Regions from separate parts of the Homo sapiens genome. Here region 1 is linked to region 2. Evidence: promoter capture Hi-C in 16 types of primary human blood cells and fetal thymus (Javierre and others, 2016). All regions are on one chromosome and are shown on one strand. The core of a region is centred on a gene start or on the middle of the fragment in contact, and the rest is flanking DNA. Distances in the headings are between cores, read along the strand shown.

What was found. The method cuts DNA at HindIII sites, captures the fragments that hold promoters and counts their contacts. A CHiCAGO score of 5 or more calls a contact.
Region 1: a contact is called between a fragment that was not itself captured here and the fragment with the promoter of NSMCE3 in region 2, in 6 of 17 cell types (non-activated CD4 T cells, naive CD4 T cells, total CD4 T cells and 3 more). The highest score is 8.1, in non-activated CD4 T cells.

Annotation. Positions count from the first base shown.
Region 1 is chr15:29,824,451-29,828,893 of GRCh38, reverse strand. LOC124903451 (a long non-coding RNA gene) reads right to left here and starts at 4,386. Exons shown (of 2, transcript XR_007064546.1): 1 at 4,278-4,386; 2 at 2,997-3,510. It also overlaps a transcript of TJP1 not described here. The HindIII fragment of the contact is 2,633 bases long and covers 1,140-3,772 here.
Region 2 is chr15:29,268,139-29,272,412 of GRCh38, reverse strand. NSMCE3 (NSE3 component of SMC5/6 complex) reads left to right here and starts at 2,591. Exons shown (of 1, transcript NM_138704.4): 1 at 2,591-4,274. The coding sequence starts at 2,708. The coding sequence ends at 3,622. All of the region lies in intron 2 of ENTREP2 (endosomal transmembrane epsin interactor 2), which reads left to right. RefSeq lists enhancers at 2,295-2,794, 2,795-3,296. The HindIII fragment of the contact is 8,019 bases long and covers 1,095-4,274 here.

The DNA.
Region 1 (4,443 bases), core at 1,207-3,706, 560 kb before region 2:
GGCATTGTGGTAGGCTTCTGTAATCCCAGCTACTGAGGAGGCTGAGGCAGGAGAATCTCTTGAACCCGTGAAGTGGAGGTTGCAGTGAGCAGAGATCAAGCCACTGGACTCCAGCCTGGGCAACAGAGCAAGACTCCACCTCAAAAAAAAAAAAAAAAGACTCAATTCATTCAGTTCCAAAGAACACATTAACAAATTAAAAGAAATAACCTGAGAGAGCAAAATGGGTAAGTGATGTAATAGGCAAATGATATACCATTGTTGTCTACCAGATAGGTGAAACTATAAAAGATTAATATTATCAAGTGTTCATATGGGGGGAGAGGAGGAAACAAAATAAGCTGATCTGGTTTTCTTAGACGGCAATTTGGCAGTATCAGTGAAATTTTTTTTTAAGTAAGCATATTCTTTAATCCAGAAAATAATTCCTTTTTGGATGTCTCTCCTAGAGAAATACTTATACATGTATACAAAAAGATATATATATATTTTTTTGTTGTTGTTGTGACATTATAATAGAAATAATCTTAGTTTGATAAACTATAATGCACCCATATTATGGAATACTAAACAGCCATTTTAAAATGATGAAGCAGATTTTCATTATTTGATATAATCTCCAAGGTGAAATATTACATTAAAAAGTTATGGAATATAAATATTATCTATCATTAGTTTAAAACACACAAAACCATACATTCTTATATTCATATATTCTCTCTCTCCTCTGTCTCCACACATACATATCACGTAAATAAATATACAGAAAGTGATCTAGAAATACACTCTCTAGTTAGGCTTAGATCATGGTATTCCTGGGTAATTATAGGAATGGGAATGCAGTGGATGTTGTTCTGTTGGACTTTAAAAAATATATCAATTGCATGAATCTTTTACAGAAGGACTGTATGCCAGTATTACTTGTGAAATTAAAGTGGGGAGGGGGAAGAATGCCAAAAGACCTGGGCATGCATTCACAACAGAAAGACCTAGTTGTGGCAGACGACTCTTGAGAAGCTTGTCACAAACTGACAGAACAGTATCTGCAGGAAGAGGTGGACTCAGAGCTGCCTCTATAATCTAGGGGCCCTTTGTTTCAAAGGGAGGAAAAAAGTGTCATTAAAGGTACACCTAAAGCTTTTTCTTTTCTTCCAGGGTTTCCATCCTGACTTGTCATGTTTTTTATGCACTATTTCATGTTCAGAGTAAAGAACAATTAAAAATGTGAATTATCAGCATGAATTTTACTGTTTATATTGTGCAACACCAGTTTTAAATGCAAATTTCAGAATATTTAACTCATGTGGAGTCACTGAAATTACACAGTTTATATTCTGTGGCTTGTCCCTGGAGGATGCCTCAAGCCGGCTAGAAGAGACTGAACACAGCCAGACTCGGGAAGGCTGGAAGGAGGGAGAGGATCCCATCCCCAGGCAGGGAAACAGCCCAGAGAACACTCTGGCCCTGGGGCCCTAGAGGATTAGGGGTGGGTAATCAGAGCAAGTACAGACGGTCAGAGGGCCCTGGGGTCCCACTAATGTGTGCTGGGCCTGATAGCTTGCTGTGATGACATTCATGCAAACCTCCTGACCTGAATGCCCTGCTGGGGACAGGGTTTGGGGACTTTGAGCCACGGGCCTATTGCTCCAACCCACAGCAGATGGTAACCACCAAGGATCCTTAAACCTCCATGACTGGATCTGGAATCCGGGCTGGGCCAAAGGCTCACCCTCACCAAGAGATTGCCTCCAGCCAGGCAGCCACCAGACAGAAAGTGACACTGCCCGTTTGGGGCTTTTGTGCACTCAAGATGCTGTGGGTATGCATACTTAAACCCCACACCTTGCTTGGATCCCTTTCAGCAGTGGCAGTGGAGCAGAGTGGGAGAGGACCAGCAGGGGTATCAAGAGCTGTGGGAGCGGGCAGCCCAGATACCCTCCTAGGAGGCGACAGGACCCTGTGAGAGCAGAGGCCCCAGTCCCCAGTGTGTGCCTCATTTTCCCATTGACCTTCACTTACAAAACACACATCCAAAACGAAAGTCCTTACAATTCAAGACAGCAACCACATTAAACCCCAACTGCAAGCCCTTCTGCCCTAGGGTCTTGTATACCTGCAGTAGTGCACACCTTGGTAGGTAGCCTGGGGAGCCCTGACTGTGTTTAAGATGGGAAACACTAGAAGACGCTTGAATTCTCAGAGGTAGAATTCATTAGCTAAGGACAGGATGAAGATGATACAGAAAGAGGACACAGCTGAGAGGGTCAGCCCCCCAAGATGGAATTCATAACCCTTGGGGGGAAGATGGAGAGGAAAAGCGGATGCCCAGGGTAGACTTGTCAGTGTTTTGGCAGGAAGGGAAGGGAGTTTCTATTCCTTAATGTCTGTTTTCTCTATGGATTATGAGATGAGATGTTTTGCCTGGGCTGGGGAGGGAGTCTTAAAGGAATCATAGGAAAGTGTAGATCAGAGTGGAGAAGCTGTGAAGAATGGAGGACAAACCGCTAAGGGATGAGCCAGAGGCCTGTATGCCAGCCTGCCTGGATTCCAGTCATGGATTTATGGAGCTTCCGACCTGCCTGGTTGTGCAATATTTGGGACCCTGAAAAAAGAAAACTCCACCTTAGCCCCAGTCAGAGGTAAGGGTAGCCCCATAGGAGGAATTCTTTCGAGGAATAACTTTCTGTATACTGAATTGAATTTAAAAAGACTTGTTTTTTAGTGTTTATGTCTTCTTTTTAAAAAAAAAAAAATGAAATGGTGTTGGTAATAGCTTTCTTTTTGTATTTCTAAACTGTGGTAATATGTACATAATATAAAATTTGCCATTTTAATTATCTTTACATATACAGTTTATAATGTTTGTTTTAAAATGTTTTTACTTTATAAGATTAAAAAGTTGGTACTCCTATATTGCACCTCTAAGATCGTTTTAAAATTTTTACTGGTCTATGAAATTTAGAAACATTATGAGCCTTAAAAGAATCTTTCCCCCATTTAACATTGTTACATGACTTTATTGGCAGAGGAAAATTCTGTAACAATTTGTAGAATCTTTAATGGTATGGCATAGGAGTGGAATCAGGATTACTTTTGGTTGTTATAACATCTTGATAAAGTGCTTCTCCTTCTAATATTTTGTATATATTCTCTTCTCTGACATTATCGAGATTGTCTAATGCTTCACTACCGTAAATAAATACTTCCTCTTTGTCAAGCGTAAACTCACAGTTCATATAAAAATAACATAAATATGCTTTCCTAAGGATCTTTTTTGCAATTAAAACCATACATATACATATATACAAATTAGGTGTGGATATAGTTGTTCATTTGGTCAAGGCTGTTTTATTAAGTAGTTCTATCTAAAATGTGTAAAGATTTTGCACACATAATGCTTTTTTCATTCTGAGCCGCAGACACCAAAAATCCCACAGGAAGTTGTCTTTTAAGTGTTGTGGTTTTTTAGTTTCCTGTTCAGTTGCAGAGATGATCAGAAATAAGATAAATCTGTACAATCGAAAGAGATTTGTGGTTAAACATTATAGTAACTCTAAATGAGAATCCTTAATTAACTTGTATTTCTTCCCATATTGATCTAGAGGAGCTATGATGACATGCGTGTGTAAGCATAAAAGTCAGAAAATACTTTTTTGGTGTTCCATGGATAAACTCTTTAATTGTTAAATGGGTGATTCTTTCAGATTATTCTTTATACTTTCCACTTGTTGTCAAAGCACCTACCTAAAAAATAAACTGCAGGAATAAAGCTTTGTTTTTAATTGTTGGCAACAGTTTTACCTTTATTTTACAGATGATAAAAGCCTTCTCTTGTTTATTTAAAGAACAGACTTTATGAAGTTTAATTTAGATATTAAAAATACCACTGAAAAATTTTAAAGTGATACTATTAGTCACTGAAATACTAAATATAATTTTTAAAGAATAATATTTTCAAGATGAAATATTTTTGTTTGATTTCATTTTTTAAACCATGGCAAAGATAAAACTGTTAAATATATAACTATTTTTAATTAGTGACAAATAGTTGCAATCTAGCATTTAAATTACACATTGGGCAACTTGTAAAAGTGACAAATAAGGAAAAGTGAAAAATGTCAGTGCATTTGTAGATAGTGTCTCTAGATTTAGGTGCTATTAAAGACACCACACCTAGTTCTAGGCAGCTTATGCAATTGCACATCTTCTTAAATGGTAAAGATAATGTGAAAGGTCTTTCATCACCACCTTTTAAAATTAAAAAATACTTCCCAAACCTTTTTAAATGGTGTTTGCATATGAAGAAATTTAATCACAATTTTTTTTTTTTAATGGGGTCTCACTGTTTCCCAGGCTGGTCTCAAACTCCTGGCCTCAAAGAATCCTCTGGTCTTGGCCTCCCAAAGTGCTGGGATGATGATGATGATGATGATGATGATGATG
Region 2 (4,274 bases), core at 1,342-3,841:
GTTGACTGCAGGTAACTGAAACCACAGAAAGTAAAACTGCAGACATGGAGATGGAGCAGCAACTACTATAATCATTGGCTGTTGTCGGTTATATTTATTGTTACTAATGTTAGTATTGTTATCACCACAGTTTCTCCCCAGACATCCATGGCTTCCAGTATCAATCCAAGGTGGAATGTGGGTCTGGATGACTTCTCCATGCAGGGCCTAAAACTTCATTCTAATACTCTTATTTTATGTCTGCATTTTCTCACCTGCATTCTTCTGGAAAGAGTGTAGAGAGATGTTTTGAGACTTAAAAACTGGTATCTCTTCTCCTCTATCTTGAGTAATGACAGTCTGCTATCTAGGTAAGCGTGCTGCTGGAGGACACTGCTGATTTTCACAGTGACAGGGGTAGTCTGACTGGTGGGCTGCTTGGTAACGTACATGAATACCTTAGCAAGAAAGAGCACTGAAAAACCAGCCCAACTGTTGACAATAGCTTTTATCTAATTTTCCACTTTCCCCTTATATCTCGGTCACTGAACTTTTTTGACTCAAGGCACTGTAGCAGGACGAGCCGCAGACAAAATCTCTCAGACACCGAGTTGCACAAGGAAGGGCTTTATTCAGCTGGGAGCATCGGCAAGCTACTGCCTTAAAATCCGAGCTCCCCAAATGCACAATTTCTGTCCCTTTAAAGAGCTCACAACACTAAAGATTTTACATGAAAGGGTCGTGATTGATCAGAGCAAGCAGGCGGTATGTGACAGGGGCTACATGCACCGGTGGTCAGAGAGAAACAGAACAGGGCAGTTCTGTTCTTTATACAATGTTCTTCTATACAATGTCTGGAATCTATGAATAACATCGGTTTCTAAGTTATGAGTTGATTTTTAACTACTGGGTTTAGGCCAGGCAGGCCCAGGCCTGGTTTTGGGCCTGGCGCTGGGCTGCCTGTATTTGGTTTTACTTCCTTGTTGTTTTTTCTTAAAACAGGTACTGAGTATAAAACAATATAAAACAATATGAGACGGTCTCTCTATTCCCTCAATACAACATCCACATCCTGCAGTAGGGACCTTTTGCAGAATTCTAGATGGCAGGAAGCTTCTATGAACCTAAGTCCAGATTTTAATTTGCAAGGAAACTGAAGCAGATGAATTTTCTCATTGTAAAAAAATGAATGCCTTGATAATATATTTGTTTTTCATAGTAGGCCTTTGTCATTAAAATTGATGCCTGAGGATATAGTTGCATCTTGTGTGGAACAGTAAGTTATTACTCATTGCATACCAGATTTTAGCATACTTGCATTAGTTCATGGAATATGATTTTACATTTACTATTGCAGTTCCAGTGCCATTATCAGATTGCATTTTCCTACTGAATTACAAACAAAAGTGTTATGCTACTAACAATTAACAAAATTTTAATAAGGTTGTGTTTGATGCTATTACTCAGATAATGTGTTCTAAATTGCTTTCCTTTGAATATATTTGCATTAAAGAGGAACTCAATTTGGTTCTTTGAAGAGTTTATCCACTTTCTGGGTAGCTTTAAAAAGACACAGGGAAATTCAGTTTCTTCTTTGCAAGTAAATAGAGAAGAAACAAATTTGCTAAGATCTGTAGAAGTCATGGCAGCAGACTGCTGATGGTTTGAGTTAATGAAATGACTCATTTTGGCTACTTGAGTTGCACAATTAAAATATACAGTAGAGACTGTATATCACATCATAGATGAGAGATAAATCCCCCAGTGTTCTCTTTTTTTTCCTCAAAGCTAATATATTATGAATTAAGAAATTTAAGAGCTCCACATTATTGCAATTCTTGATCAGTGATGCCCCAAATTAAGTAGTAATCTCTTGAGAGTGCACGTTTGTTTGCAGCATTCCTCTTACCCATTTCTGCTAAAATTGTGGTTGTGACGAAAGCAGTTGTTTTCCAAAAGATAAACCCATGTGACCAAGCTAAAACATTTACCTAATACTGACACGTTTTTTGTGGTCTTCTCATAGTTGTCTAGCTAAAGGAGTTTAATGCAGAGAATATAAATACGGAAATAGTGAAACTGAAGTCCTGCTTGCGCAGAAAGCCTGCAGCCGACTTTGGTTTTTAACAGACTCCACGGGGCATTAGAGAAAGTAACTGGGGGCAGTGGGATGGAGGGTATGAAATTGGGTGGAGGGACGAAAACTAAGAGCCCTCTGGGTCTTTTATGTCCTTCTACATTTTGTGTAGAAATAAATGTTTTTACTTTACTTCCACGGTCGGCCCTTCCTCTTCACCTTTTTTTTTTCTCACACGTTCATCCTCTGAATTCTTTCCGTTTACAAATGCTCCCGATTTAGAAACTCATAATACTGTCTGTAAAACTTGCCTGAGCCTGTGTGGTCTGAATTTAGCGACACACTTGTTTAGGAGTTTCGGTTCTCGCTCTCTGTTTGCATGGTTTGGTAACAACACTTCACTATACTAAAAATCATCGCCCGGACCTGCAGGGCTGCACGGAAAACGCTGTTCCTTTTGGTACCCGCCGCAGCCGCGCAGGCGCACCGCCCAGCCGCCCTGACGCAAGGCGCAGGCTTCATGACGCAGCACGCAGTCTCAGCCGACACTGCGCGCGCCTCCAGGCACCGGCGTTAGCGGGTCGCCGACCCGCAATCCCCGCCGCGGCTGCTTGCCTACCGGAGTGTGCGCCGGCACCTGCCGCCGGAGACATGTTGCAAAAACCGAGGAACCGGGGCCGCTCTGGCGGCCAGGCCGAGAGGGACAGAGACTGGAGCCATAGCGGAAACCCCGGGGCTTCGCGGGCCGGGGAAGACGCCCGGGTTCTCAGAGACGGCTTTGCCGAGGAGGCCCCGAGCACGTCCCGCGGGCCGGGCGGCTCGCAGGGGTCGCAGGGCCCCTCGCCTCAGGGCGCCCGCCGGGCCCAGGCCGCCCCCGCCGTGGGGCCCAGGAGCCAGAAGCAGCTGGAGCTGAAAGTGTCCGAGCTGGTGCAGTTCTTGCTGATTAAAGACCAGAAGAAGATTCCGATCAAGCGGGCCGACATACTGAAGCACGTCATCGGGGACTACAAGGACATCTTCCCCGACCTCTTCAAACGGGCCGCCGAGCGCCTCCAGTACGTCTTCGGGTATAAGCTGGTGGAACTTGAACCCAAGAGCAACACTTACATCCTCATCAACACCCTGGAGCCTGTGGAGGAGGATGCCGAGATGAGGGGTGACCAAGGCACGCCCACTACGGGCCTCCTGATGATCGTCTTAGGGCTCATCTTTATGAAGGGCAACACCATCAAGGAAACTGAAGCCTGGGACTTTCTGCGGCGCTTAGGGGTCTACCCCACCAAGAAGCATTTAATTTTCGGAGATCCAAAGAAACTCATTACTGAGGACTTTGTGCGACAGCGTTACCTGGAATACCGGCGGATACCCCACACCGACCCCGTCGACTACGAATTCCAGTGGGGCCCGCGAACCAACCTGGAAACCAGCAAGATGAAAGTTCTTAAGTTTGTGGCCAAGGTCCATAATCAAGACCCCAAGGACTGGCCAGCGCAGTACTGTGAGGCTTTGGCAGATGAGGAGAACAGGGCCAGACCTCAGCCTAGTGGCCCAGCTCCATCCTCTTGAAAGGTGGATTCAGAGGGACCCCCGGGACAAGGGTCTGAGACCCAAAGGCACAGTTTAGAGGATTGGGGGAAGGGAGAACGAACCCAGGGAGCATATTGCTGTAAACGCTTCAATGTGTGTAGCTTTAGGATGTGTTTGCAAAGTTTTGTTTTTTTAATGTTGTGTTATTTTGCTCCAGATTTTCATCTATAAACAAAGGAGCATTTGTTTTGATTTTACTCTTTTTGGTATAAAAAATTTTGCTAGCTTAGTAAAACGAATTGGAAAACTTGACTATGATCTGGAACAGATAATGCAAGAAGGAACACATAAGTAAGTTGCTTTGGTGCCAAGAAAATAAAAAAGCTATTATCAGGTCTCCTAACTACCCCAGTTTGTAAGGAAAAATAAAAGTTTTTATAAAATTAAAAAAAATAATTGCCTATATCCTTATTATGTTAACCTATTTTATTTTTCTATATTTCGTACATATATAAGTATTATTCATGGTTCCAAGCAATGAGTGTAATGTATTTTCTCCCAATAGTAATTGTTTATATTCATAATTATTCAGCTCTGCTGCTAAACACGTAGTTCCACTTCGTTTTTTTCTTCTTGCTACTGTAGTTATTACAATAAATACTGTATTTTTGAAGCACTTAAGCATTGTGTG